7 separate regions of the Homo sapiens genome follow, and all the other regions are linked to region 1. The links are contacts of gene promoters, found by promoter capture Hi-C in blood cells and fetal thymus (Javierre and others, 2016). All regions are on one chromosome and are shown on one strand. Each heading gives the region's core, a stretch centred on a gene start or on the middle of the fragment in contact. The rest is flanking DNA. Distances are from core to core; before and after follow the strand shown.

The links. The method cuts DNA at HindIII sites, captures the fragments that hold promoters and counts their contacts. A CHiCAGO score of 5 or more calls a contact.
Region 2: a contact is called between a fragment that was not itself captured here and the fragment with the promoter of TMEM212 in region 1, in 1 of 17 cell types (neutrophils). The highest score is 5.3, in neutrophils.
Region 3: a fragment that was not itself captured here is called in contact with the fragment with the promoter of TMEM212 in region 1 in 1 of 17 cell types (neutrophils); the score reaches 5.5 in neutrophils.
Region 4: a fragment that was not itself captured here is called in contact with the fragment with the promoter of TMEM212 in region 1 in 1 of 17 cell types (M1 macrophages); the score reaches 6.3 in M1 macrophages.
Region 5: a fragment that was not itself captured here is called in contact with the fragment with the promoter of TMEM212 in region 1 in 1 of 17 cell types (neutrophils); the score reaches 5.7 in neutrophils.
Region 6: a fragment that was not itself captured here is called in contact with the fragment with the promoter of TMEM212 in region 1 in 1 of 17 cell types (M0 macrophages); the score reaches 5.6 in M0 macrophages.
Region 7: a fragment that was not itself captured here is called in contact with the fragment with the promoter of TMEM212 in region 1 in 1 of 17 cell types (M0 macrophages); the score reaches 5.8 in M0 macrophages.

What each region holds. Positions count from the first base shown.
Region 1 is chr3:171,841,167-171,845,514 of GRCh38, reverse strand. TMEM212 (transmembrane protein 212) reads right to left here and starts at 2,166. Exons shown (of 5, transcript NM_001164436.2): 1 at 1,973-2,166. The coding sequence starts at 2,131. The HindIII fragment of the contact is 2,451 bases long and covers 1,134-3,584 here.
Region 2 is chr3:172,303,571-172,307,918 of GRCh38, reverse strand. It overlaps FNDC3B (fibronectin type III domain containing 3B), which reads right to left. Exons shown (of 26, transcript NM_022763.4): 10 at 418-556. Among named protein-coding and RNA genes, the nearest start is that of GHSR, 140 kb to the left of the region's middle. RefSeq lists an enhancer at 2,046-2,340. The HindIII fragment of the contact is 9,457 bases long and covers 1-4,348 here.
Region 3 is chr3:172,223,390-172,227,737 of GRCh38, reverse strand. FNDC3B (fibronectin type III domain containing 3B) reads right to left here. Exons shown (of 26, transcript NM_022763.4): 4 at 791-867. It also overlaps the pseudogene RPS27AP8. Among named protein-coding and RNA genes, the nearest start is that of FNDC3B, 190 kb to the right of the region's middle. RefSeq lists a silencer at 3,625-3,919. The HindIII fragment of the contact is 3,757 bases long and covers 221-3,977 here.
Region 4 is chr3:172,193,665-172,198,012 of GRCh38, reverse strand. All of the region lies in intron 3 of FNDC3B (fibronectin type III domain containing 3B), which reads right to left. Among named protein-coding and RNA genes, the nearest start is that of FNDC3B, 160 kb to the right of the region's middle. RefSeq lists a silencer at 3,728-3,918. The HindIII fragment of the contact is 654 bases long and covers 1,893-2,546 here.
Region 5 is chr3:172,172,376-172,176,723 of GRCh38, reverse strand. All of the region lies in intron 3 of FNDC3B (fibronectin type III domain containing 3B), which reads right to left. It overlaps LOC124906304 (a long non-coding RNA gene), which reads right to left. Exons shown (of 2, transcript XR_007096169.1): 2 at 1-4,348. Among named protein-coding and RNA genes, the nearest start is that of FNDC3B, 130 kb to the right of the region's middle. The HindIII fragment of the contact is 2,957 bases long and covers 489-3,445 here.
Region 6 is chr3:172,143,399-172,147,746 of GRCh38, reverse strand. All of the region lies in intron 3 of FNDC3B (fibronectin type III domain containing 3B), which reads right to left. Among named protein-coding and RNA genes, the nearest start is that of FNDC3B, 110 kb to the right of the region's middle. The HindIII fragment of the contact is 2,739 bases long and covers 936-3,674 here.
Region 7 is chr3:172,112,892-172,117,239 of GRCh38, reverse strand. The region is part of intron 2 of FNDC3B (fibronectin type III domain containing 3B); the gene reads right to left. Among named protein-coding and RNA genes, the nearest start is that of FNDC3B, 75 kb to the right of the region's middle. The HindIII fragment of the contact is 967 bases long and covers 1,427-2,393 here.

The DNA of each region.
Region 1 (4,348 bases), core at 917-3,416:
GTATTATGTTGCAGTCTGAAAGGATAGGCAAACAGCTGTAACAAAAGAATGTAGGGTTGAACTCTAATCATGATATTGTTAAACTTTGTGAAATCAGAATTTTTAAAAAAATTAAATGAAATAGAAAATATCAGAATATGTTTCACATAGAGGGTAAGTACTATTTTGAGCAACTTTTGTTTTATAGATATATAAACATCTACTATACATGTATATACATAATAGATGTAGATATCTATTTATCTAGAGAGAAGAATGTAGATGTATTTATGTACATTCTGGGTCCTCACCTAAAATATTTTTCTGACTCTGAGTCACCAAAAAAAAGTTTGGAAGCCACTTGAATAAGTGTAACTGCCATCTCTGCATTCCAGTAGAACTTAAACAAATATTTCTTTGAATGAATTGTGGTTTCAGGTAGGTGTTGGAGAAAAGAAGGGAAGATCAAGATTGGGGTGATAGATGCAAAAGAATGTATTGAAAAAGAAAAAAAAACTGAGAAAGAGAAAGATAACCCTGTGGTTTCCTCATTCCATCGACTCTCCCATAATCCCACTGGCTTCCGTCTATCTGCACACATTCATCAAACCCCACTAGACCAAGTTCCTTTAAGATGAAGACCTTGTTGGATCCTTCATTGTAACTCAACGACATAGGGGGCTATTCATAAATATTTATCTAATAAGTAGATTAAAATTTATATTTCCTGAGGTCTAGTTTTTAGGTGGTATCTCAGTTAAAGTTTTAACTTTTTAAAGATTTAAGATACTATCTCACACAACAGTGGCTACATTTTGTTTGTTTGTTTTGAGATGGAGTCTTGCTCTGTCACCCAGGCTGGAGTGCAGTGGTATGATCTCGGCTCACTGCAAACTCTGCCTCCCAGGTTCATGTGATTCTCCTGCCTCAGTCTCCTGAGTAGCTGGGATTACAGGTGCATGCCACCACGCCTAGCTAATTTTTGTATTTTTAGTAGTGACGGGGTTTCGCCATGTTGGTCAGGCTGGTCTCGAACTCCTGACCTCGTGATCCGCTCCCCTTGGCTTCCCAAAGTGCTGGGATTACAAGCGTGAGCCACCATGCCCGGCCAAGTGGCTACATTTTAATAGAAGATTCCTTAAGATCAAAAAGCTTCAATATTGAATTCTCCAGTCTCCAGTAGTGTCAGGCGTCACAGGAATCAATGAGAGAAGGATTTGTTGGACAGGTGGGTCTCTGTAACTTCTCTTAAATCATACCAGCATGGAAGCCAGTTACTCCCAAGACTAGATGTGCCCATTTTTTTTTGGTTGGAGAGCTAAGGGACCAGGCCAATCGTTTATCTGTGCAATGATTCAATGAGCGCACACGGAGTACTACTTAGTGTCGTACGCTGTACTTGGCACATGTACTTTCCTAGTGAATTGTGAAGTCCATCTTGAATTATTGAATTATTTGAATTATTTTCAAATAATTGAAAATTATTGAGTTATTTTCAGTTCAAACAGTTGCTTGCAAGAGAAAGGTGGAAAAACAAATATTTGGGGTTTGTAAATTTTGGGGCCATGTACATCTTAGTGTTTGCAATGAAAGCATTAGTTTGAAAATTATTTTACTTTGTTCTGTATTTTAAAATTACTTTTCAAGGTTTATGTTTTTTTCTAAATTCAAAATTCACATTTCAAAAGATTCTAATTTCTTAGCATATCAAGTTAAGTGGATTAAAATAAAATAACTTTTTAAGAATTTCTTGAGCAGCATGTCATTAAAAATACATAATATACATGTATACATGATAAAACAATATTAAGATCATTTTTATACTTAAAATGCAATTAATAGAAATCAATGTTCCAAGGCGGATTCTGATTTTTTGTGGAATTTTGACTTCTTTGTATTGTTAGAACAATTTAAAAGGATATGTTCTTCTGTTTTCCCTTTCCCTCCCACCTTCTTTTATTTTCTCAATATATTTAATAAACTATTTTCATACCAAAGCTCCATTCCAGATAGGACAAGCAATTCGAACACTCCATCCTGTGAACCAAGGCTTGTAAGAAAAGACAGGAAAGAAAGCAATAACTCCAGAGCATACACTGAGGATCCCCAGAGTAACAAGAATCCGGCCAGCAGCCTGGTAGAGGCCCTTCATTTTCCTTGGTGGCTTGAGGCCTTGGTCTCAAAGATGTTTTGTTACCAAAACATGAGCGTATGACAGGCCTCAGTAAATAGAAGTTTCTTAGAGACAGTAGCCACGACACATACGAACTGTTGATCTACTTGGAAACAAGATTCTATTTGTTTTACCAAAGATGAAATGTACTCAAATAGTCCTTGGCATAAATTTGACACAATAAATTCTAATAACAATTTATTTAAGAGAAAGAGAGAAAAAAATTATCCCTTGCTTTGGATTGCTGCCTTGATTCCCTTCATTCTGCCCTGTCCTGGGGAGTGACCACTTCCTGGCTTAATCAGATTCAAAGGCTTGCTGACTGAGCTAATTGTTTCTCAACTCAACCTGCCTAGTGGTTCCAGCATAAAGCCAACATCCTTTGTGTACAATAGATCCACATTCCCAGCACAATTTCCCACAAAACAAAGTAAAAATAAGCACCCTGGTCACTTTTCATTATATTTAATTTAAATGATTTCAACCCAAAGCAAGACCTTCACCTCCTTTCAAAGTTTAATTCCACTACAATTATTTTTGATAAAGATTTTTGATATGGATTCATTCCCAAATGGGCATGAACTTTATTATGGAGTTTTGCATTGTTTTCACTAAACCAGTTTCACCTTATTTTACTATTAATTTAATTTTCAATTAAAGTGTGATGATGGAAATGTATGCAGTTATAAAATAAAATAAACTTTGAGGAGCAATTCATCAGTTGAATAAAATGCTGATCCCCATTCATTCTTGAATCATAATTCTAATTTGAGATATTGAACTTAGGTACATTTAGGCAGTTACAAGTCATCTCTTACTTTTTCATGCATTTGAGAAAATGGTGTTATTTGATTTTGACTGATTGGATATATGTGGATGTCTGTTCAAAAAAATATCTTAAAAACACAGGTCAGTTTCTGAAGCCATCTGAATAATTTTCCTATTTAACATTAATACATTATTCCTTTTTACTGAAATAAAAGGATGAAAAATAATTTTATGAATGCAAATGAAGTGGTTTAGGACATCGATTTTGAGTCAGATGGAGCTGTGATCCGATTCTGGTTCCACTCTCTACCAGGTTTGTGTCCTTGAGTAAGGGCAAGTTACTTAACTTCTCTAGGTCTATTTATTCGTATGCGAAATGGGAATAAAAGTTAGTGTTTATCTTTAATGGATTTGGTTGAGAGGATTAAATGAGCTAAAACCATAAATGCCTAGCCCAGAGTTTAGCATAACGAAGATGTTCAGAAAGTTACTCTTGTTAAATTGGGATGTTCCACCTTTGGGGTCCTTCCATCGTGGGACAAAGGTGCACTTATTGTGGTTTTTTTTTAAATTCATCACCTTAAAAACATCATGTTTAACTCTTCCTGAACAATTTGGTAAAAACTCCCAAAGGACCCTCCCATATGTGGTGGAAAGAGAAGCTTCTCTCTGATTCTCTGCTTTTTTTCTTTCTGCCTTTCTGTCTTTAATAGCCATTCCACAGTTTGACCCAGATTTTGAAGCAGTTGCATTCCTGGATATACAGAATCCAGGAAACCAACTCATGCTTTCTGGTACAGCTGCTATTTCTTATCTCCTCTCAACACTGTGGGCTATATTCTCTGATTTTTTTTTTCTAACACCACTAGATAAATTTCACAAGGGCAGAGACCTTGCAAGTCTTATACATCCCTTAAATGTATGAGATATTCCCAGCGTCTACAACCTTGTCTGCATCAGAGCAGATACATATAGTAATAAGTATTTGTTGAATTAGTTGATTAATACATTAAACTTTCCCCTTTGTATTTGGGCTCTCCTGTCCCCCTGAAGCTGCACAAGTATAGAGCCATGTGAATCCACCACCGTCAATGAGTGTTGATGCTAGTTTGTTCCACTGATATGGGGGGGGAAGGGGTCGAGAGTGAAGAAAGACTTGTTTGTATTAGTATTTGGTTTGAGCTGTTTTGACTTTTTCCTTTACTTTTTATCTCAAGGTTATAGCTAGATGGTATGTCAATATGCTGTGGGTCAGATCACTCTCTCCTGTTTGCATGTTTGGAAAATAAAGACTGTTGAAATACTCATGTTAAACAGTACAAAGATGGCAAACAAAGAGAGTATTTTTTGTTTTAACTTGAAGGACCTTTTAAGTGCCTGTAACACTCACAGCCTAACCCTGACACTGCTATTGTGACTTATAAACCT
Region 2 (4,348 bases), core at 514-3,013, 460 kb before region 1:
TGTTGCTTATGACCTGAAGACATTTAGAAAATACTGCTGCAAAAAAAAGCTAAAGCTAGATTTTGCAGTTCCCTCCTCCCACCCCTTTGCCCAACTCTTACAGAAATGACAACTTTTGATATAACAGTTGGTTGCACATACTTACTATGCAGAAAACCAAACATATCACAAGACTGGAGTCGTGCTAAAAAATATTTCAAATGGCTATAGACTGACCTTATATTAACTCGAGACTCTTTCTCTGTTGCCCAGGGTGGAGTGCAGTGGCGTGATCATGGCTCACTGCAGCCTTGAAACTCCTGGGTTCAAGTGATCCCCCCTCCTCAGCCTCCCAGGTAGCTGGGACTAGGAACACGTTGCCACCACACCTGGCTAATTTTTAAATTGAGACGATTCTTGATGCTTTGAGCTACCCACCTTCCACTGCAGGGTTAGTGAACTTTTGCTCCTATGTGCCAGCTTAGGGGGGAAAGGACACTCGGGTGCACAGCTGTGGGTGGTGAAGCTAACAGGCTCGGAGCAGGATCCCTTTACGGAATTGTACATGGCATACACCCTGAAAACAAAACAGACACAGTCAGTGGCAGTGACTCATCATAGAAGACCAGGATTCTTATCTTTGTTTCACCCTAAGGCTTTCTGTAGATGAACAGAATTTCTTACGGAGTGAGTATCATGCTCTTGCTCTTATCTGTTGGTCTTGTCCTGACCTATGGTTAGCATTAACAGGGGACAGTCATCCCAACAGGTATTTGTCTCAGTGTGTGCCACCCAGCTCCATTTCAAGATAGGCAGGATCTACTGACTAGAAGAGATTATTCTAAGTAAGAAAATAAACCTTAACCCCAGAACGATCTCCAAATATATGTTCTAAAACCCCATGAGCTACTCTCTGGTTGACTTTATCTGGAAAAAGGCTAAGAGTTAAGAGCTGGATAAAAAGGCAAAAGAAACAGTAATAAGAGGTCACAGACTGGAGAGAAAGCATAAAAGTACAAACAGGGTAGATACCATCTTTGAACTACATTTAATACTGTACACATTTATGTAAAACTAGGGATGTTTCACAGAGAAGCTAACAAGTGTGACTTTCTCTAATTCCACAAAAACAATGTTCAGGTACAGTTTAATCCACGTGAATATTTAACTCTTATACATGAAGCCAAGATTAAAGATGTTCGGTCTGTACACTAAAATGTTTGGCTCAACACTGCAACATATGTGCTTGATTTCTCCAGAGAAGCCATGAAGAAAAAGCATAGAACATACTATTAATGCCACACTCTTCAAATAGCATAAAATAGGGCTATGCTGATTTTTATCATCTTCCTACTATTCCATTTTTTATACTGGGAATTTATTTTTTCAAAATTGAAAATGTACTCTTAAAAAACAACAACAACAAAGAACACTTTGCTGCCTAAAACAGATGCAAGGATTAAACTATTCACAGAGTTGGCAAATAGATATTGAGCCCTTAATTCTTATAGCCACCCTCTCTGAGGTAGGGAAATCTTATTACCCATTGCAGACAGAAGGAAACACAGAGATGAAGTACATTTCCCAAGGCCACACAGTTAGAAATTTGGATCAATGGTATTTATCCCTGGAAGTCTAACCAGTATATACGGTATTGCCTATTCCCCTTGTTCATCCTGCAATCATGTTCCTCTAAACACCACAATCCACTTCCCTTAGCCCTACCCAATGAACACAAACAACAGGTAAAGATAACAACATTATGGAAGATAGGTCCCAAGTGTGTGTGTGATTTGCAAAGTCATTTCTCCACAAAGTCCATCATGAAAAATTCATAGAGGCCATACGTCAAAGGCACTAATAGATATGTCTACTTTGTACCTCAAAAGATAAAAATACATACATATTACATATTTGATCTATTTGCCTTATGGGAGGACAGCATGAAATTTGATCCAAACAAATAATGCTTATCATTGGGATGCTCTCCACCCAACCCCTGATGAAGGAAAAGGTCCTTTTTGCACGCACTGTAAGTAGGCACGTGATAATATAAAACTAAATGGTAGATCTGGTAAGATCATTTCCCTGTGTCAGGATGGGCTCACTGGGAGTAAGTTACTTTAAATGAATCACAACATGTTCCAGACATGGGCAGGGCTCAAGCCTGAACTTTGATACACAGAATTCTCCAACAGGTGACTCATGGGTTGCATCTGACCCAAGACACATGTGTATGTGTGGTGGCAGTGTGCAAAAACATAATGTTTTGAAGTATTAGAGCCACCTATGAATTAAAAGATACAGGCAATGACCATCACAAAAAGAGACAACCAGACACCATGCATTCCTAATAAAGGACTATGTCACTACCTACAAAACTGTCTTGGCAGAAAAACTGAACCTGTATCTGATTAAACCTCTTCATTGCTTTATGGGAAATATAGAGGACAGGAGAACAATATTAAGCAACACAACACGGATGCAGTCAGCCAAACTCATACTTGTGGAAGACTCTACAGGACAAACAAATTAATCTAACAAACAAGTTGCAAGAAAGAGAAAAAGATAAAGGGAAAAATGAATGGATTAAAATATATTTAAGACATATCAACCAAACCACATATTCACACATTTGAATTCCAATTACAACAAACTAAAGAAACAAAATCTTCATTCTTAGAACTGAGGAAATGGGAACAGTCCCGGGATTGTGAAGACATTTCAGGTGTGTGTGATGATGGTAATATAGTTTATAGGTGAAATAATATGATGTCTGAACCTTACTTCAAAATCATCAGGGCAGGGGAGAGGTAAGTGAGGACAATGAGGTAACAGAAGTTGAGTGATGAGAGTTCATTAAACTACTACTATCTAAACTACTATCTACTTCTGACTATATCTAACATTTTCTGAAATAAAAAAGTAAAAATTAAGCCTTCACTGAAAAATATCTGGAGCGCTCTCATTTTAAAAACCAAACTTCTGGCTTCTCTTAAAAACTCAAGGTTTTAGCAACACTTGGCTTTTTTTTTTTTTTTTTCAGATGAAGTCTCGCTCTGTCGCCTAGGCTGGGGTGCAATGGCATGATCTCAGCTTACTGCAACCTCTGCCTCCCAGGTTCAAGTGAGTCTCCTGCCTCGGCCCCCTGAGTGGCTGGGATTACAGGCACTTGCCATCATGCCTGACTGATTTTTGTATTTTTGTAGAGATGGGGGTTTCACCACGTTGGCCAGGCTGGTCTTGAACACCTGACCTCAGGTGATCCACCCACCTTGGCCTCCCAAAGTGCTGGGATTACAGGCGTGAGCCACTGCACCTGGCCTCACTCGGCCCTCTTTCCTGCCCTGTAGTAATGAGCTAAATCTGTGGGCAGCTCCCCGCTTTAGATGGAGCAGGTGCTGCAGAGTTCGCTAGAGTCCCCATCATTCCTACTGTCTCCACAGCACTGAGACTGCTTTTCAGCTGACCCTTACCCAACCCAGTTTAGCTGTTTAGGTTCTCTGCCTCCACCCAGTAAGTATGTCAGTTTGCAATGACTGGGCATTTGCCTACAAATGCAGAAGTATACCCAGGCAGATCAGGTCCTATATGTTCCCAAAAACAGCCACCGCCAAAAATCCATCTGGATAATAGAGCAGAGGGAGGAAGGCAGGGAAACAGCCTGCAAAGTACTAGCAGGATGCAGTCAGTTGTCTGGGGAAAGGTAAATTTGGTCTCAGTAAATTCTTTGTTCATTTTTAGTGGGATTCTTGGAGGCAGCAATCCATACTTCCTAGGCTGGAGAGTCGTAAGTGATGGAGACTCCTGGTGGCCAGGCTGGGAGGATGGCAGTGAGGATAAAAGTAAAAGAACCTGATGCAGGTTAGAAATTTGAGGTTGTTGAAAACAGACAGTTGTATGGGCCAGATGGAGTTGGCTATTTTTCTTGCCTTTAATCTTAAACAATGTTATGCTAAGGGTCAATGCTTTTCACACATAATATTTTGTCAGCCATTTTGCATGGCAATGTAAGTATGCTGCATATAGTACAAAAATTGGCACCACACTTAAGTATCCCTTGATTACATCTGTCAATTATAGTAGTTCAGTAAATGGACAGCAACTTACTGTTATAGTGACTAGCAACATTTTTACCAATAACTTTTATAGAAAAGAAAAATCTCTGCTAATGATGCTACATTTTAAAAGAATACTGCAATTTTTTTTTTTTCCACATAATGGCAATGAGTTTTCCATAAATATCATCATGTAAAAGGAGTATCTGTAGAGTACGGTCAGTTTCTTGGGTTAAATAAGTCAGCAAACAGTTCAGTTTTTGTTGCATTTATCCCAAGAAAAGAAAACATTTTTCTAACAATATAATTAA
Region 3 (4,348 bases), core at 850-3,349, 380 kb before region 1:
TTTCCTTTTATGGTAAGTAGGAAGAACAAAAAAGGCAGAAAGACAGAAAAACAGTTTGTTAGGTATTTGGAAAGGTAGCTATGCAGAAACAGAAGATTTGCATATTGTGCTGAGGCTAGGACAAAAACTAAAGTATATACAGATGTCCACAATGTTCCAGCCATGCAGAACATTTTATGCTTTATTCACGTACAGGAACATAACTTCATCCTTTAAAGCTTTTCTACCCTTCCCACAGATCTCTGAGATTGCTATTACCATCATTTTACTTAGAAAACCAAAGCTCAGAGAAATTTAAGTGCAAACAGCCAAGTTCTCACATCATACTCAATAACTCACCAAGCCTAGCTTTTGCCACATTGTGGAGCAATTGAACTCCATTTTTTTCCTTCTGTAACAGAAGGTAGGCCCTGTTTATGTGAGCTATGTCTCCTTTAATATGTTAACTAACTACATCTATGAATTTTCTTCCAGAAAGTTGTATTACAGGTGGAAGGAAATGTCTGAAGCAGGAGACTCCATAAAGAAATCACAACCAAACAATCAAATATAAAAACCCCACTTGGCAGAGGACAGTCTAGTAGGCCTTCTGTGTCTCCTTTTCTCTGGTTCTCTGGTACGTCAAGTGGCAAGACACAAGAAACGCCATGTGGTGCCACAAAATGATGGCAAACCTAGCACTACGGTACCCAAATTAACTCCTGGAATATGGCTTTGAAGCCTCAACATATATTCTGTTGGAGCAACGACAGTGTCCATAGTGAGTAGAGAAGTCCATCAAATGGATTACCTGTGAGATATAACCTGGAGGCACATGAATGGGAGGAATGGATCCATTGGGTGACATCATGGGAACTTCAGCAGGTCCTAAAACAGACGAGTCAGATGTTAATAGCTGAAGAAACATACATTATTCAAAATAATTAATGTTTTCAATGTACTATCCAAACTGAAGATAATTAATGACTTTGACAATTTGCTCTTCAAAAGTTGGTATATATTGCCTTAAAGCTAAACCTGAAACCATGAATGAAAAGGAATTCTCCAGCTATACAACTCAAAGAAAACAAACAAAAAACCCAAAACTATAAGTATCTTTATAAATATTTAATGATTCCCAAAACCTCAAGTTCCATAAACCAAGATTGCTCAGTTAGTAGTAGTGTAACAGAGTGGGGCAAAAAGTTTCTTTCTTTTTATTTGGCCTTTAAAAGAATGCATAATTAATCAATATTTAAACAAATCAATTATAAAATTATTTTTTATTCTGGTTTAGAAAGCTCCTATAGACTTTGCATTTATGATTTTCAGTTAGATTATTTTTAATAAATTACTGTAATATGCCATAATTTGAAATAGAAGAAATCCTTAAATTATTCCAAACCAACTGAATAAGGCAGGGGGAAAGAATACATTTTTTTTTTTTTTTTTTGAGACAGAGTTTCGCACTTGTCACCAAGGCTGGAGTATAATGGCGCGATCTCGGCTCACTGCAACCTCTGCCTCCCAGGTTCAAGCGATTATCCTGCCTCAGCCCCCCGAGTAGCTGGAATTACAGGTGCCCGCCACCACGCCCAGCTAATTTTTGTATTTTTAGTAGAGACGGGTTTCACTGTGTTGGCCAGGCTGGTCTTGAACTCCTGACCTCAAGACCCGCCTGCCTTGGCCTCCCAAAGTGCTGGGATTACAGCTGTGAGCCACCGTGCCAGGTCTAGATCATATTTTAAAATAAGGAACTATTAAAAATATGTATGCCAAATTTACATGGATTATTTCAAAGTAAAGTATTAAATTAACAAGAAATTTGTTTCAAAATAGGAAATTCAGTTTTCTGATCCACCATCTGGGATGGAACCACAAGCAACAGGCAGATTTTCATAAAAGTCCTTACAGGAAGAGCACCACTCTCAAGGTTGAACCCTTGGACACAACAGAAAATCCAAAGGCCAAGATCCAGAATAAAGAAGGAATTTCTCCTGATCAACAGAGACTGATCTTTGCTGGCAAGCAACTGAAGGATGAACATACTCTAACTACACATTCAAAAGGAGTCCGCTCTTCATCTTGTGTTGGGACTTCATAGAAGTAGTCATACCACTCCCAAGAAGAATAAACATAATAGAAAAAGATTAAGCTGGATGTCCTGAGATACAATAAGGTGGATGACAACAGCAAAATGAGTGGCCTTCATTAGCAGTGTCCTTCAGATGAATGTGATGCTGGAGTTTTTATGGCCAGCCACAAACAATTGACAGACATTATTGTGGCAAATATTGTCTGACTTACTGCTTCAACAAACCAGAAGACAAGGCTCAGCACTGTGGCTCACTTGAGCCCAGGAGTTTGAGACCAGCCTGGGCAACATAGCGAGATCCCATCTCTACAAAAAATAAAAAATTAGCTAGGCATGGTGGTGCGCGCCTGTGGTCCTAGCTACTTGGAAGGCTCAGGTGGGAGGATGGCTTGAGCCCAGGAGGTCGAGGCTGCAGTGAGTCAAGATCAAGCCACCATACTCCAGCCTGCGCACAGAGCAAGACCCTGTCTTCCCAAAAAAGTTTTTAAAAACAGAAGACAAGTAATTGTGTATGAGTTAATAAAAGACGTGAACAACAACAAATTAAATTCAATGAATGTTAATTACATGTCTAAGGCAAACAACAAATGGCAAAGGTTAACAGTTACCCAAGACATAGTTTTGAGTTAATATTTAATTACAAAGAAACTGGCTGTTGTTACATCAAAATCAACTTCAGACACCTTTCAAAGATCTAACGATTAAATAAATGGCTTCCCTAGAAGTGCAAGAACCTCATGGCCACTGGTTTTCTATTTGGTGGCTGGCTCGCCTATTTAGCAGCCCACCTCCCAAATGTCAATAGAAAACTATGTGTTTCTAGTCTGAGATGCGACTTCCTGGCTCCAAGTGCCTTGCATTGTTTATTTGCTTTATCCTAATGTATGTTGTGCTGTCGGCAATGAAAATTGCTCAGCTGGAACAAAAACCAAGAGAAATACAACACTTTATTTGGTAAAAGGCAGATCCTGCCATCCAGTGCTGCATTTAAACGTGCACACAATGCATCCTTCACTTCACAGTACAACCAGCGTTATGACCACTTCACAGGAGAGGACTCAGCAGGGGGAAAGGGACAGGGACACTGGTGAGCATATGAACAAGTCTGTGAAATAGGAAAAAAAACAGGAGCAGGGAAGAAAATTTGTATACTATTTATCTAACATTCCAAATGCCAACCGTTCAATCCAAATTCATGGATAATATACCAAATCACTCAACTATCTGGTCATCTCTGTAACTGTAAAAAGTAAACACAGCAGTCTCTCACATGCTAACACATTGGCAATAATTTAAAGCAAAAGAAGAGAATGGCATAAAAATCGATCATTGCATGACCCCATTTAATTCTTAAGTATAATTTAAACGAATACATCCACCAATCGCTGAAGGCTTTGGTTTCCAAATCCATTTTTCTTGTCAGCCTCAGCATTTTTGACACAGCCAACGAGAGAGTTGTGTATTTACTTAATATTTGTATTTGAATTGACTCATTAAAAATAAATCATAAACAATGATGTCTGCCCCATCCTGAGCAGTATCTGTGAAATTCAAGGGCTGATGTACACAGCTCAATGGAGCAGATGTTAAGAGTGTGATCTGCCTGGTTTTATTCCCCAGCTCACTATTCACACTGGTTGCGTGACCTTGAACAATTCACTTAGCCTTTCTGAACCTTACTTCCTAATAGTCATAAGTGAGAATAACAATTCTTACTTCATATGGTCAGGTTTAAAGATGAAATTCATTACACGCAAAAGCGCTTAGAGCAGTGCATGGCACAATAATCACTCATCAAAATGTTACTAGTTATCATTATTCTTTACAATGCTTTTTATAATTTTATAGATAGTTTTGGTTGCTTTTTAAATTTTTTTTTGTTACTATTACAAGTAGTAAAGCTTTTTAATATTCCACACCCATGCAACATAAAATCAACAAGTATACACTTGGTACAACATTGACTTAGGGAACAATCCTTCCTCATTAGGTAAAAATAAAATGTTTCACAGTACAGAGTGTGAACAGAGGTGCTACCATCTCAATAAAGTATTGCTTTTTAATCACCAAAACGTATACCATGCAAATAGTCTCTTAACCCCAGGCATGACCCCTAAAACTGTTAAAGTCATTTGTGTAAAATGCTTTAAAGAATGTAGGACAAGCATGTGATTTACAGCTAGAAAAGGTTTTCTTCACAGTCTTGATTTCAAGAGTAGCCAAATGACTTTAACATGCTTGTTCCCCCTTTTGTCACTGTCATCAAAACTATTT
Region 4 (4,348 bases), core at 970-3,469, 350 kb before region 1:
TACTATTACAAATAATGAATAAATCAACAATCTGATGAGCAAAGGAATATTTATATCACTTTGAACTACCACCTTACAAAATATTTACTCATTACAATGGGAAAATTAGGACTTCTACAACGGAGAAGACTGGCAGGTACCATCTTAGTCAATGATCAAAGTGATCATCACCAGTAATGAGGCAAATCAATATTATGACCACCTGAAAGAATGCAATGAGAGCACAGTGTCACTTCTGTGATGTTCCTGCCAAAGATGGATAACCTGGATCTAATCATGAGGATATATCAACTAATTGAAATAGGACATTCTACAAAACAGCTGACCTGTAACTGTCACAAGTAACAAGGTCACAGCATTCTGAAAAAGACTGCATTATTGTGCCACTCTCAAAGAAATTAAAAAGACACACCAACTAAAGGACACATATAATTCTGAACTGAATCCTTGTGCTATAAAGGATTTTGTGGGGCTCACCGCCGAAACCTCAATGGGGTCTGAGGATTCAACAGTAGAAATATAGACATCAAAGTAAGTGTCCTAATGTTGATGGTTGTATTGTAGTTATGCAGATGAACATCCTTGTTTATGGGAAATACAACAAATATTCAGGGTTGATGGGCATCAAGAGACCAATTTACTCTCTAACGGTTCAGAAAAAACATGTTCTCTGTGCTATTCAAATTATTTCTCTAAACTAAGTTGGGGTTAGCTAACAAGTGCTGTCAAGTATTTTGCACCGTATTTGTAACAATTCTGCAGTTTTGAGGCTGTTTCAAACATTTTAAATAATTATTATTTTATTTTACTTTATTTTATTTTATTTTATTTTGAGACAGAGTCTCACTCTGTCACCCAGGCTAGAATCCAGTGGTGCCATCTCGGCTCACTGCAACCTCCACCTCCCAGGTTCAAGTGATTCTCCTGCCTCAGCCTCCCGAGTAGCTGGGACCACAGGCACATGCCACCACACCTGGCTAATTTTTGTATTTTTAGTAAAGACAGGGTTTCACTATGTTGGTCAGGCTGGTCTCAAACTCCTGACCTCATGATCCGTCCGCCTCAGCCTCCCAAAGTGGTGGGATTACAGGCGTGAGCCACCATGCCCAGCCAAGAATTGTTCTTTAAAAAAGAGAAAAGTAATAACCGAAAGCATATATTTAACCCAAATACAGACTGCCCATTAATTAACTCACTTACTCTGAGAGCTCCGGCTGTCTTCTTTGGACAAGAAAAAGCGAAACGTGAGGTGCCATCATCTGTGTGGCTCATCCTAACATTACAAGACTTTGAGGGCTGTCCTTAACCTCTAGACCCTCCCTCTTCTATTCAGGATACAATCAGAAGGGAACCTTTCACCAAGCTCTCCCAGGGGTCAGATCACAGAATGTGACCTGAAATGTCAGCCAATTCCCACCTCCATTTTACAGATGAGAAAACTGATGTCCCAGAAAGACCAAGAGTTAGGGCTAAAACTTAGAATGTCCAACTCTAAACTCAAGGAAAAAGACATATGGAAATAAATTATAAAATATTAAAGGCTGGGAGACTCTAATCCCAGTACTTTGGTAGGTCAGGGCAGGAGGATCCTTCAGGCCAAGAGTTTGAGACCAGCCTAGGCAACAGAGCAAGACCCCCATCCCTACAAAAAAAAAAATTAGCTGGGCATGGTGGTAGGCACCTGTAGTCTCAGGTACTTGGGAGGCTGAGGTGGGAAGGACCCCTTGAACCTGGAAGTTCGAGGCTGCAATGAACTATGATTACACCATTGAATTCCAGCCTGGGCAACAGAGCAAGACACTGTGTCTAAAAAAATGTTTTTACATTTAAGGTTAAATTTAAAAATAAATTAAATTTAAAAATCTGAAAAATCTTCCCAGCAATTAAAAGCTTTAGTGTGGGTGGCTTCATCAAATGCCAAGTACCTAAACCTTTCAGATTTAAAGAAACAACTCACAGCTCCCCAGAAAGTGTCCTCTATAATAATTAACATTGTACATTTACAAAGGCTCACATTAAGTGCCAGAAATTATGCTAAGCATTTCATATAATCTCATTTAATCCACACAACTCTTTGAAATCTAAAGGGTTTTATCTCTCATTTACTGTTGAGGAAACTGAGGATTAGTGTCATTATGTAACTGATTTAAGGTCAAAAAGTTTGAGGCAGAAGACCCAAAATTGGGTCCAGGCACTCTGACTGGAATTCCAAAGCCTGGGTTCTTAACTGTGCCCACTCCTGTGTAATTGAACAGCTCATCCTATTCCTCAGGCTGGCTTGTGACTTAACCTGTACTGCTACAAATGAGAATGGTGTCAAATGGGAATGACCCCTTCTGCATTGTACCTCTAAACAATAGTCAAGAACAGAGTTTCTCAAAATGTAATTTGCTGAAAACAAGCACCTCCAGGCATAGAGATAAAAAGAGAAAACAATGTGGAAGAGAGCTAAGTTACACAAAATTAACAGCAGCACAACTTCTCAGATTCTTAACGTGTGTTGTGGAGCTTTAAGCATCTGAAACCTTTTGCCATGGAGCAAAGCTTGTGAAAGCCAGCTTCCTGCCTTGAACAGAATTATTGACCCAGTATCAAGTGTGGTGCATTTTAAAAAATGCTACATAGTGTACCATTTGTTTAAAATAAAATGTTCAATCATTTCATAGCAAGAGCAATTGATATCAAATGACTAAAATAATTTCACACAGTGTTCTCCCTCGGGATCTCAGTTCAAATACTCTTCTATACATTGCAAATACCCTGCCAAGAATCACTCTAAGCAAACAAAAATGGAATGCTAAGTTAAGAGGGGTGGGGGTTGGGGTGCCACCATTCAAGACATAGATCCTTGTAACTAGTAAAAATACTAGTAAAAATAGGTTTTTATCTCAAGATCAAACTTTTTTTAAAATAACTAAAGGTCATGATTTAACTGAAAATAATTTAGACTTTGTTTTCTTTCAGTTTTTACAGACTTAGATTTATTTCTCTTCCTAAAGAAAAATTAGTTATAACCTTGGAAACTAATTCTGTAAGGTCCTCCACAGCTCTGATTAACAACCTCCCAGCGGTGCTAAGGAGTCCTAAGAAGCCGTTACTTCGCCAAGGCAACCTGATAACATAACAGGTTTCTTAGCAACAGGGTAGTCACAGTAACCATTCACCATGGTATTAGAATTAGGTTACCCACCAGAGTTGAGGCCAAAGGAATAATTTAAACTCATTAAATGTATAGGCCCCAGGTAACAAGAAAAATACATTTTTAATGCCACTTGTGATTCACCTCTGAAATTAAGTACTTATATGACTCTTCAGTGCTGGACTAGATGAGTAGATATTTATAAACACAATGTCAAGTGTTTCAAATACTCAATACCCTTTTCTTAATGTGAAGCTATGTATATGATCTATGTCATAATTATATTCTTTTCAATGAGTATTTCCACCAACCCATTTAGCAGTACCATATATAATTTTGATGAAAAGATGCAACTTTATAGAAGCAGTAAGGTAGAATCCAGACGCAGAAAACAATAACTTTGGAGTGAGTACGAAGGATTTTAAAATCCATTTAAATGGCAAATAACCAAAAACAAAAACATGTCTCATTTCACTTGACAGGTAAGGTCATCCATCAACGACAAGAATCACACGTTTACATTTTTGTAGCTCTCAAAGTATCTACTAGAGTACGAAACAGCAGAACCACATAAGGGCTGCTGGTTGAATAAATGCATCAATCAATACTACTCTACAACAGTATAACCACTAAGATAATTTTTCTTTTTTTTTTGAGATGGAGTCTTGCTCTGTTGCCCAGGCTGGAGTGCAGTGGCGTGATCTCGGCTCACTGCAGGCTCCGCCCCCCGGGTTCACGCCGTTCTCCTGCCTCAGCCTCCCAAGTAGCTGGGACTACAGGCGCCCGCCACCTCGCCCAGCTAATTTTTTGTATTTTTAGTAGAGACGGGGTTTCACTGTGTTAGCCAGGATGGTCTCAATCTCCTGACCTTGTGATCCGCCCGCCTCAGCCTCCCAAAGTGCTGGGATTACAGACGTGAGCCACCACGCCCGACCACCACTAAGAGAATTTTTAACATTTGGCCTGCTCACCCACAATTCTTATTTATCCAAAAACTTACTCCTTTCTTCCATTCACCCTTCAGTGTGAACACTTTAGTTATTAAAAAGATGATGTTATTTTTGAAAAGCTTTGTTGATCTTCCTTTTGTGGAACTAGTATAGTCTGTGATGTACTTTCCTCACAAGGGCACATTTCTAGACATCAAATACAGGTCCCTTCCAACATGGAGTACAAGCACAAGGAGGAGGAAAGAAAACAGGCCAAGTG
Region 5 (4,348 bases), core at 718-3,217, 330 kb before region 1:
AAGTAATAACAGACATCATTTAAACACTAAGCTACAGTTTCAGATGAATTCAGGGTTCCTACAGCACTTTCCAACTGCAAAGCACTCTCACATTATCTCATTCGACCATTGTCATCCCAGGAAGAACTCTAAAGGGATGTTCCCTAATCCTCTGTAATTGCCCACCCCTTCCTCTTCCTGTACATGAAATCTGCAGTTGTAGCAGGAACTAAATTTCCTAACTCAATTCAGAGATTATTTTTATTTGGCTATGGCAAGGAAACTAACAAAAATACTTTATGAATCCAAAGAATGATCTGAGATAGTCCATGGAAGGTTAACTATCAAAACTTTAAATGGAAATCTCACTAGAAACTACCAGGCTCACTCAGAATTCTTGTGTCCTCTTGCAGTTTTTCAGACTTGTTATTACTATACTCGTCTCTCTTAGCTCCACTTCTTTAAAATTTGCTGGTTGTAATCTCATTTGGGCTTAGAAACCAAAAGCTTTAGTGGAACTACTAAAAGATTAAGCAACACCAGGCTCTGGCAAGGGAATGAAGGGCTCTTCTATTAATTCAATCAATGCATGCGTACTTCAGAGTTGGTTTATAGGAAATCCAACTAATCAAAGGCCTTTTCAACCCATTACCTGGCTTGGAACTGGTTTGGGAATGGAACACAGGATTTTATTGCTCTAACCAATATTTTAGCCAAGTGGGGCTTGCACACCTATGCTGAGCTTTCACCTGATGGGGTAAATTTATATTCTGTGTAGACATATAATAGAAAAGGAACAAAAATAGGCTTATAAAACATTCTATAGATAAAACTGTTTGTTACAGGTAAGTTTTCATTTCCATCCACATAGTGCAAACAAAAAATATTAGGGCAGATTTTTCACATCTGTACTACTGTGATCCCCTCCCCAGGAAAAACAATGTCTTCTGGGGAGACCCTTCACACTTCTCCAACGCGGTACAAGGTTCTCACTTACTATGGTAATCATGTGTTTACATATCGGCTTTAGATTTAGGGTTTTCTGTGTGGTTGTCTGTGTAAATTCTGCTTCTAGATTTTACTTAAACCCCTTTAAGGGCAGAATCTACATCAAATTCATTTTCGTATCTCTAAGAATATTCAAAACATAAAAAGAACTCAAGAAATTAAATATTTGCTAAATGAAGAACTATTTGAGGTTCTTCAGCTACACATACTCTAAATGGCCCCTTTCTAAGAATTTGCCTTTCAGCAATGGGGAGGAGAATAGTAGGTCCCAGTTGAGAACAAAAAAGAAAACAAGAGGTGAAAAGAATATGTAAGCATTTTGCTGTAATACCTCCCCCACCACCCGCCCATCCGCCTACCTACCACGTATAGGACTATAAAATCCTGAGGAAAAAAAGCACTTAAAAGAACAGGCTGGAAATGTTTCAGGAAACCCCTTTCTCTACTTACTCTCCACTTGTTCATTCAACAAAGGCCCAAAGGTGACAGGAAGAGAAGCAAGGAGCAGCAGACATTAGCTCTCTGTAGCTTTTCCCTGGCCATCAACTAGCTTCTCTATTACCACTCTGAGATGACTGAGAGAGACAACGGCAAGGAGACAAGAACCCTGGACTGTCAGACAAATCCAGGGAATGCAGCAGAGAAAGCAAAAGCAGCGAGAAAGCAAAAGCAGCAGGGGCCTGGTCAGGGAGCAAAGATGGAAATGAGGAGAGCAACTGGGAACCCCTGTGAGAAAGCATGGCCAGAGAGGAAACTAGGACATGGGACCGGATGGACAGCAAATTGTATTGGGGGGGGGGGGGTGGCGGGGGGAAGGTCTCCAAAGTCCACAGAGAATCAGCAATTTGGCTAAAGCATGTATGAATAATTGGGAATTAACTGTATACACAAAAGATTTCACCTCATTTACCACAGCAGCTAGATAAACATCATACTAAATTAAATAAGAGGCTATTCACCCACAACCAAACCGAGACCATTTGTCTTCATTCTCTACTAAGATTTTTAAAGAAATTTCACCATGCCTTTGCTGTCGCCCTCCCAATCTGTATAAGGCCCCTGTTTGTTTGTCTTGATGAGGTCGATTCCACTTCTCAAGACTGAAGTCTGAATAGCACTACATTAATCCAGATGCTCTTTCTAAAAGTCTTTCAAATTCAAAGATTCCAAACATTAACATAAAGATACTCAGGGACCAGCTGTTGCAATTAACAAATTGTTTATATGTTCCTTTCTGTTGGCTTAAAAAGTACTAGAAGGAATTTTAAGCAAGATGAGACTGTCATTCAGATTTGGGAGTTTTAAATAGATGGTTTTCATGTTGTTCAGGCTAAAAATAATAGTGTGTATGTCAGACTTCTTGTAAACAGGCTTCAATTCACAAGACTCAGTCTAACTAAGTGGCAGTCTCACCATGCTGTAGAAAACAAAGCATGCAGAAACCAAATTATTTCTGGAATAAGCTCAGTATTTGGAAACTTAATCATTTAGACCTGTCTCTCTAGAGAACAAGAGTAGTCTTCCCCAAATATGCTTGAATGCCTTGGATCCTAACAGGTTCAATAATGAATTCGCTCTTTGGTAAAAGAGAATGAGAGTCATTCTGCATGCAGAGGTGTGAAAGTGGCACAGTCTTCACAGCCCCCACCACATTCCTCCCACCTAAGGAGGTGCCACAGAGTACAGACACATTTCCCGCAATGGGCATCTTTTTCTGCACCCATGAATGGATTCTCAGTTCGCTGACGAACTCGAGAGTTTTCCCCGTAAATAACACATTCTTAAAACATGCTACATCAACACTGAATGAGTTTCACTGGCAGCTCCTACTATTCCATTTCAGTACTCCTGCAACAGCAAAAGCCTTCTATTCCTAGGACATCGGGAGGCTTCCCACCCCGCGCCCCACCCCTCCCCCAGACAGGGTCTTGCTCTGTTGCCCAAGCAGGAACACAGTGCCACAATCACAACTCAAACAGCCTTGACATCCCAGGCTCAAGAGATCCTCCCACCTCAGCCTCCTGAGTAGCTGGGACTACAGGTATGCACCACTATGCCTGGCTAATTTTTTTTATTTTTAATTTTTTTAATTTTTTTTTTTTTTTGTAGAGACAAAGTCTCATTATGTTGCCCAGGCTGGTCTCAAACTCCTAAGTGCAAGTGATCCTCCCGCCTCGGCCTCCCAAAGTGCTGGTATTACAGGTGTGAGCCACCACACCATGCCTACAGAAGGCTTTAAACATTTCCAACGTGAGTCATACAGTAACTCAAAAATTACACGTTGTCTTCTCTTACAAGCAGTGACTTCAAAGAACACATCAAATTCTTCCATATGGTTGTTTACTTCTTGTAACTTCATAGAGAAGTCTCTATTAAGGTGTTTGGTAACCCTTGGTTTTTATTTTTAAATGGTTAAAGTTTAGGACCCCCACGATAAAAGAATCTGTGATACAAAGCTTGGGAACACCTCTAGAGAGATGTCCAAAAGAAGGAACAGATAACCTTATGACAAGCAGAAAAGGGAGTTCTATAAACTCCCTGTCTTTTAACCCCTGAGCAAATGTCTCAGCATATTCTGCCATCGTTTCGCTTTATCTCTAACTCTATACTCTAATTCCAGTTTTTTTTTCCTCTGACTTCTGAAAAGGGGAAAGGGAAATTCCCTTGAGAAAAACAGTTTTCTATAAATGACTTCATTGAAATTTTCTCACAACACACTAAAGAACCATTTCAGTGCCAACATTATACAGGCACTAAATTAATATAAGTGCCCAATTAATATAAGATTAAATACAGCTATAGTAAAACTGAAATCCTCAGAGTAGAATACACCCTAAGTAACTCACTCCTAAACTTTCCTTATTCTTTCATTGAGGAAATGTCGAAGAATATGAAAGAAGCAAAATAGGTCCCTTATATTTAAATGGTGACCATTTGCAAAACCATGACTTAATAGAACAAGTGGAAAATAGATGACCTGAGCGATATAAATGCATATAAAAATAGGCACTGAAACATCAATCAGTATGTCTAAACCTATATATTTATGTTAAGCTATTTCACATGTAAGGTTTTTAAAGAATCTGGGAGTTCCCCAGGCAAGCAAGTTCTTGGAACCCAGTATTTTTGCTGGATTCCCATAGAAAGATATCTCTTCAATACCAGTTCTACTTCATTTCTTCCCTGGGACCAGTCAGATATGCTCCTTCCCCCAGGAAACATATTCCCCCAGGAACAATGACAACAAAAAAGGATCTTTGAATTATCCCTCAGATTTGTAATTTTGGACACTCTTTACTTTGTCACACTAAAAATAACCCAGAAATTGAAATCTAGGTAATTGTAGCTATTCCTACTTTTA
Region 6 (4,348 bases), core at 1,056-3,555, 300 kb before region 1:
TGAACCAAGAACATCAGTAACACCCTGAACATCTCAGAAATACAAATTTTCTGGCCCCACCCACCCCAGACCTGAATCAGAAACCCTGGGGGTAGAACCAGCAACTGTGTTTTAACAGGCCCTCCAGGTGATTCTGGTTTATGCTACATTTTGAGAACCGAGACTACCTGTTGATAATCTTTAGGGTCTGACATAGATGTCATATACTGAATTCATATACTATAGGGACCACCCACCCAAGTCAAGCAACAAAATGATTCCTAGGGACCTACACCATTCGAGCTAGATTAGGAAGGGAACAAAGAGGGAAGCAAAAGTCCCAGTCCAATCATTTCATAAAGGCATGCGAAAACAGGGCTCACAGCAGCTTATCAGCTTCTGAAAAGTGGCAAGTTGTAAGATGGTTATTTTCTCACCTCACTTTTTTTTTTTTTTTGTTTGGAGACAGGGTCTCACTCTGTCGCCAGGCTCGAGTACAATGTTGCAATCTCAGCTCACTGCAACCTCCATCTCCTGGGTTTAGGCAATTCTCCTGCCACAAGCCTCCCGAGTAGCTGGGATTACAGGCATGCACCACCACACCTGGCTAATTTTTGTATTTTCAGTAGAGACAGGGTTTTGCTATGTTGGCCTGGCTGGTCTCAAACTCCTGACCTCAAATGATTCCCCTGCCTTGGCCTCCCACGGTGCTGATTACAGGCGTGAGGCACCACGCCTGGCCTTCTCATCTCACTTTTTAAAGTCTGTCCACTCTGCATAATCATACCTGTTCCAATCAACTTTGAATTTCATTAAACATAGGTGAACTTTGAATTTCGTTAAACATACGTGAACTATTGTGTTTACATCTAAGTAAGTATAAAGTAAATCTGTACTCTGCCGAAAGCAGTAACTCATATTTCTGTCTGATGGTTCTTGTTTATTACTTAGAAGCTTATAACCAAAGCTAAAAAGCAATTTTAATAGGTTCAGTAAAGCCAACTACCACATAGATTTTACTTAATATGTATAAGAATACAAGATAAAAGATCTTTAGACACTTTACAAAACTGCCAAACTTGCTAAAGAAGATGAACCTGATAAACAGCCACAGGTACACAGCCTGTACACTGAAATGTACGTGGGAAAGCACAGTGCAAGAATTTCTTGAGCTGTCCTGAGGGTTACGTTAACCAGAGCTTCTCAACCTCACTACATATTCAAATGGCCCGGGAGCTTTTCAAAACCACTCATGCCCAGTCCCCAACCCTTACAATCTGACAATTCCCCTACAATCTGACAATTCCCCTGGGCTCAGACAATGTGACACTTCCCTACAACTAGCCTACATATCAACTTTTAAACTTTTTTTTTAAGTTCCCAGGTAATTCTGATGTGCAAAAGGATATAAGCCACTGTTAATACACACAGTTTTAAAATTCTGAGATGTTAGACATGTCCTTTTCCTTGGGCATATGATTCAAGAACTATGTCACTCAACAGGTGAGCGCTTGACTCACAGAATAAGAACTGTCGTGACTATTAACTAAGAATAAATTAACCAATTTAATCCTAGATCTTGATTTCTAACTCATGGGATGATAGTGCCATGCTTTTTTTTATATATTTTATTAATGTTTTTAAAAAACTATTTCCGCCAGGCACGGTGGCTCACGCCTGTAATCCCAGCACTCTGGGAGGCCGAGGCGGGCAAATCACCTGAGGATGGGAGCTCAAGATCAGCCTGACCAACATGGAGAAACCTCCTCTCTGCTAAAAGTACAAAACTAACGGGGCGTGGTGGCGCATGCCTGTAATCCCAGCTACTCAGGAGGCTGAGGCAGGAGAATCGCTTAAACCCGGGTGGCGGAGGTTGCAGTGAGCCGAGATCACACCATTGCACTCCAGCCTGGGCAACAAGAGTGAAACTCCATCTCAAAAAAAAAAAAAAAAAAAGAAAGAAACCTATTTCAAGTTTACACTCAAAGACAATTTATACTATCTGCAAAGATTACTCTTCCTCAACAGAACACAAGCTCAGTTCTAGCATTGCCTAAGTACAGATGCTCTTTAACCTGTGACCGAGTTACGTCCCAATGAAACAATCGTAAAGTTGAAAAATCTTAAACCATTATAAATCTGGACCATTTATACTTGCTTTATTCACAAGGTACCACAGTGCAGCAGGCAAAAACTGACATTGCTGGATCTAGCATAAGACATTCTGAAATGATGTTCAAAATCCAACCAAGGAGAACTGTTGAAGACTCAGCACTTCAAGAACAAACAGTTTGACATTTACATGAGATAAGTGTATGCGTATACCCACTTTAATGAGAACTGCAAAACGAAACAGGAAACACAATTCATCTGGTCATTTCTCTAACACAGAATAACATTTTCACTAGAAGACAGAGCAAGAAAAGGACTTATATTTTGATTTAAGTTTCCACTCTTTTTTTTACTCCCAAAGACTTCTCCCTTGATGCTACACCTCCCTCCTCTTCTTATCAATTTGGAACAGAAATAATAATCTGCTAATACATACCCGGGAGCTTTTTAAATAAAGTGAAGATGTGGACACTCCTATAGCTAGAAAGATAACAAAACAGGTGTTTAAAACTGGCTCCACAATGCAATATATAAAGCATCCAAAAAGGTATTATATTTAAATTATGGAATGCTTCGACCTTAATTCAGGCACAAAAAGACTTGAATACTTAGGGGGGAAATAATCTTTTCTCTTCAAATAGAAAAAAAAAAAAGTGGTAGGGGGAGGAGGGTCTATCCAACCACACAAGAAATGTGAAGCTAATTCAAAGAACTCAAAAGCAGGAATCATAAAGGAAACCCCCATTCTGTGGGCAATTCTGAGGCCAGTTTTCTCCGTATTTAGATTGGATCCAAAAAAGAAGTAGTAAAGCATATTCCCCATTAACTCAGCAGTCTTGCCTCACAAATAGTGTGCAAATTACCTTCCAAGACACTGAAAACCCTCTTCAGAGAGGAAATACCCAAGTTGAGGAAAAGGAAAAAAATACCCACTTAAAAAAAAAAAAAGTTTGCCTTTTAAACCCATATTTGTTACTCTTAATGTGTGTCCAATTAAGAGACAGAGAATACAAAATGTTTAGTGCTCTCAATTATGTTACAAGACAAATATTTTTCTAAGACACTGTAGTTCATCTACCTTAGGGAAACATTCATCCAGTGTGTTCTCACTGGTCACAAGTCATGACTATCTCCTAAATGTCTGTAATATCTGCTTCTCCTTCCACATCCCACCACGAATGCACTCCTTCAGGCTCGACGCCTGCCTGCCCTCTTCAATCACACCGCTGGTAGAGAAAAACCATTATGCCACCTTCATTTAACTCAGTAAATGATATGATTTGGATCTCTGTCCCCTCCAAATCTCACACTGAGATGTGACTCCCAACGTTGGAGGTGGGGCCTGCTGGGAGGTGACTGGATTGTGAGGATGGGTCCCTCAGGAATGGCCTAGCACCATCCCCATGGTGATGAGTGAGTTCTCATTCAGTGCACAGGAGATCTGGTTGTTTAAGAGTCTGGGACCTCTCCCTTCTCTCTCTTACTCCTCCTCTCGCCATGTGACACGCTGGCTCCCCTTCGTCTTCTGTCATAATTGTAAGTTCTTTGAGGCCCTCACGAGAAGCAGATCCCAGCACCAAGCTTCCTATATATCCTGCAGAACCATGACCCAATTAAACCTCTTTTCCTTATAAGCTACACAGTCTCAAGTATTTCTTTACATCAATGCAAACACTGACAAGCACGAATGAGCCTCATTTACTATTTATTTATTTATTTATTTATTTATTTATTTATTTATTTATTTTGAGATGGAGGCTCACTCTGTCACCAGACTGGAGTGCAGTGGCACGATCTCGGCTCACTGCAACCTTCACCTCCCAGGTTCAAGCGATTCTCCTCCCTCAGCCTCCAGAGTAGCTGGGACTACAGGTGTGTGCCACCACGCCCAGCTAATTTTTGTATTTTTAGTTGAGACAAGGTTTCACCATGTTGGCCAGGATGGTCTCAATCTCTTGACCTCATGATCCGCCCGCCTCGGCCTCCCAAAGTGCTGGGATTATAGGCATGAGCCACCGCCCCAACCCTCATTTACTAAAGCATAATTTGTTCCTGGGTCTGACACAGAGTTTACCGAGAATTTATTACTATACATAAACGCTATAATTTCCAACAGCAAGAAAACATAAAATATTAATAAAATTAACGAGTAACCTAAAATATTTGTTAATAACACAAAAATAAATACAAAGTTTGGGAAAAAGTTGATGTATCTTTAAGGATTAAATAGCCTAACATTTTCTAAGGTATTCCCATC
Region 7 (4,348 bases), core at 661-3,160, 270 kb before region 1:
ATATTAAGGGAAGCAAACTTTATTTAGCTAAGCTAGGCTGTAGTTATTCAGAGGTGGGAGAAATTAATGGTGATACAAAGCAGAGATAACTTTATTTGGAAAATAATACTTCAAAATAAAGCTACTCAATTTCACTTTTGGTTATATATACGGTTATATATACAAGAGAAATAAAAAACATGTCCACACAAGAATCTGTGCATAGCAGCATTATTCATAACAGCCAAAAAGTGAAAATAACTCAGATGTCTATCAGATCATGAGTGGATTAATAAAATGTGGTAGATCCATGCAGTAAAATATTTGGCAATAAAAAAGGAATACAGTACTGACACATGCTGCAATATGAATGAACCTTAGAAATGTGTTGAGTGAACCGGGCGTGGTGGCTCACACATGTAATCCCAGCACTCTGGGAGGCCAAGGCGGGCAGATCACTTGAGGTCAGGAGTTCAAGACCATCCTGGCCAACATGGTGAAATGCCATCTCTACTAAAAATACAAAAATTAGCCAGGCGTGGTGGCATATGCCTGTAATCCCAGCTACTCGGAAGGCTGAGGCAGGAGAATTGCTTGAACCCGGAAGGTGGATGTTGCAGTGAGCAGAGATCGTGCCATTGCACTCCAGCCTGGGCAACAGAGCGAGACTCCATCTCAAAAAAAAAACAAAGATGTTGGGTGAAAGATGCCAGACACAAAAGACCAAATGTTATGTAATTTTATTTATATGAAATTCCAGAATAGGCAATATCTACCTACAGAGACAGAAAATAAGTGAATTAGTGGTTACCTAGGACGGGGGGAAGGGAGAGAGAAACAGGAAATAGGGAGTGATCCCTCTAGGGTTCTTTTTAGAGTGATAAAAATGTTCTAAAATTAATTGTAGTTAAGGTTGTACAATTCTGTGAATATACCAGATTCCAATGATTGTATACTTTCAGTGGGTGAATGGTATGACATGTGAATTATACCTCAGTAAAGCTGTTAAATAAGGAAAACTGTGTAAGCTGCTTCTGTTCACATTGTTTCTTGTTATTTATTTTTAGTTGATAATGCTTTTAAAAGCTTCATTCGTAATGAGGATGACTTTTCTTTTTAAGAAAATAATCATCCTTTTCACTCTTGCCCTTTCCCTCCTACCTGCGCAAAATGACAAGCCAAGGTTTCAAACTTAATTTGACTTCAAATAATGAAAATTAACAGTGTGTCTTATTTAGAGAGCCAGAACGCAACAGAGAATCCTGCCAAGAACTAGTCCTAATTACATCCAGAACCAGCAGAACAGAAATCAGAAGGAGGAGGGCTGTGGGAACTGCAGAGCTTTCTCATAACTGTGGTAGTTCTTTTGCATATATAGAAATGTTTAGAATGTCCTTTGCACAGCTGCAAAGTATTAAGAACGCTGTAAATACATACAAGGTAAGCTTCACCATACACACTCCTAACAGATATTCAGAGGCAGAATCCTATGGCCAGGGGATGGCTCTTAACAACTGTATGATGTGAGAGGTGGCTGAGGTGCCACATACCTTAGGATGCCACCGCCGAGGGTCTGTTGTACAGTGCCTGCAATGTCCACCCCTAGAGTCAATCCTGTGCCTGCAAAAGGTTCTTATTAAGATGAAAAGGTGTTGCTTCAGTGAGAAAGCACAGTAAAAGCCTCAGAAAACATTCATATAGATCACTTTCTCTGGTATGTCTGCTGTAGCCTGATCCTTTAACATGGAACCACCTGAGCACCACATTACGCAGGCTCTTAAGGGCAGGCAGCAAACATCAGCAGGTGCCCAAAGCAAGCATTCAAAACTCATGCAGCCCCACACTCTGGGATCCTGTCTTGGAGACTCACCTTTGTTCTTTCTTCTTTTGAATGGCCCTCTATCTCTCCCCTTTCCCTACATCCTCTTGTGTTTCTCTGCCACTTTTGGTTTTCCTTCTCCTTCACTCTGTCTTCCCCTTGTGCCTTCACCTGGGTTCAACCCACAGGCCCCAAGCCTCTACCACGCACACCTAGGCCAATGCTAAATGTTAGAACCCAAAGGAAAGAACTGAGGCTTGAAAGAATGAGGAGACACAGGATGGAGACTCTGGGAGCAGAATGAGGAAGAAAAATGTCAAGCACAGAGGCCACTGCCTAGGCTGAGCCCCAGTGATGTAGAGGCAATGACAAAGCATGGTAAATCTTGGGCTGGTCCTGCTGAGAGGGACATTTCTAACACACTTTACCCACTTAACAATTTTGCCCATTAAGGAAAAGTTAGAGTTAATGCCAAGTAATAGCTTGGAACCAAGGATGTTAATGCTTCTAACACAAACATATTTACTAATTAAAAAGACAAAACAGTTCCTTCTTGTGAGATTTTTTAAGTGTACCCCCACTTTTTCATAAAGCTTGAGTATTTTGACTATTTATAAAACAGATACATTAACAGATTCTTCTTATTAGCTTTAGAGAAAGCTTTAATAAGATTAAAAAAAGATTTAATAAAAATGCGGGTTTTTGTTTTTGTTTTCTTTTTAGAGATGGGGTCTCACTTTGTTGCCCAGGCTGGTCTCAAACTCCTGGGCTCAAGGGATTCTCCTACTTCAGCCTCCTGAGTAGCTAGGATTACAGGCATGCACCACCTCATCCAGCTTTGAAAATATGGTTTTATTAACCAAAATTGTTAAGCAGCTTCTGCTTAGAGTTGAGGTAAGATATGCAAGGTAGGGAAATGCCACGTAGCCTGCTGGGCAAGCTGAATTACAGACATGTGGGAGAAATCAACAAAACATAAACATGGTGTACAACAACATGGATGGGTGGCCTCAGGTCTCTTGGCTACACAGGCAAATGGGAATGAGGTGACCACATCTGAGAGACCTAAGTCATTTTCCAAGTTTACTCACATTTGACTAAATACCTTGTCTTTTTTTTTTCTTTGTATTAGTAATTCTTTTAATTGGGAGACCAAACACTGCATCTTGAAACCATCCACAACACTCTGCAACCTTCCCATGAACTACTTGAGCACAGTGAGCAGAAGAGCAGGCAGAGAATGACAGAGAGAGAGGCCAGCACTAACACGGAAGGCTGGCAGCCAGGCAGCATGACTGGATTTCACTCCAGGTGTAAGAACGTGGCCTGAGGTAGGCCAATGACATCAGAAAGTTTTTATTTGGAAAAGACCCCTCAGGATCTATGTGGAGACTGCTTTCTGGTGGGGCAAAAGGGAAAGCAGAGAGACCAGCGAGAAGGGTTGTCCTGTCCTACCCTAGTGAGATGACGGCACGGGGTCCAGCAGTGGTAGTGGAAGTGAAGTGGATACGGCAGAGTATGGATTCAGCACACACTCCTGAGATAAAGCCAACAGAACATGCTAAAGACTGAAGAGGAAGATGAGAACACAGAGTGAAGACTGTAAAGTGGGCGGTAAGGAAGGAGAGGAAGTGGAGAAATACTGCCAAAGAGGGAAAAAGGGACAGAAGGTAGCAACTGGAAGGGGATGTGGAATCAACTGAGGAGGTTTTGTTTTATTGGGTGGGGAGAGGTGCAGGTGTTTACGTTTTTAAGATAAAAGATACTACTGTATGTTGGTGGAAGTAATCCAGCAGAGGAAGAGACTGAGGAATCAGGAAGGGAGTTATCTGCATCAGTGGTGAGAAGACATGAAATGCATTCAACTAACAAACATTTACTGAGCACCTATTATATATTTTTTGTTCTTAAGAGGTTGATAGTACAATGCAGGAGAAAATAATATAAATTATTAAGCAGCAAGGTCAGCTCCAACCAAGTATATGCAAAGAATATACTACGATAGACAGAGGTTGGATATACTGTATGATAGATTAGAGCAGGGGGCATGTACTGACATCAAATAAATGATTAACTTATTTGAATTATTAGTATATTTTGGGTATTTTCCAAGCAATTGCTCCCAATTCTACTTTTCACAAAATAAAAATTCGCTTTTATGCTTCTGAAGGATGTACAAAGATAAAATATCTAGTTGTAAAACTGTGCAAGCCCAACTGTTGCAATAAAAATTTTTAATTAATGTTAGAGATAATAGTTCAATCCCTAATAATTTGTTAAAGTTTCACTTACTGTCTAAATTGTTTCCCCCAAGTGCTACTTGACTGAGTTCACAAATAACTCTATTCCACAATGTTCAGTGACTAGTGACAAAGGAGATTCAGAGAAAATAAGTACCGTGATTTTATGAGCTACACATTTGGAAGGACTATTCCAGGAGCAAGGGTGGGTTCACACTGCCCTACGTGTCTTGTCGAGATCACTCCTGTGTGAAGCCAAAACCTGACCCTCTGAGCATGCAGCTCTGGCCAACCAAGCAAACTAGTCAAG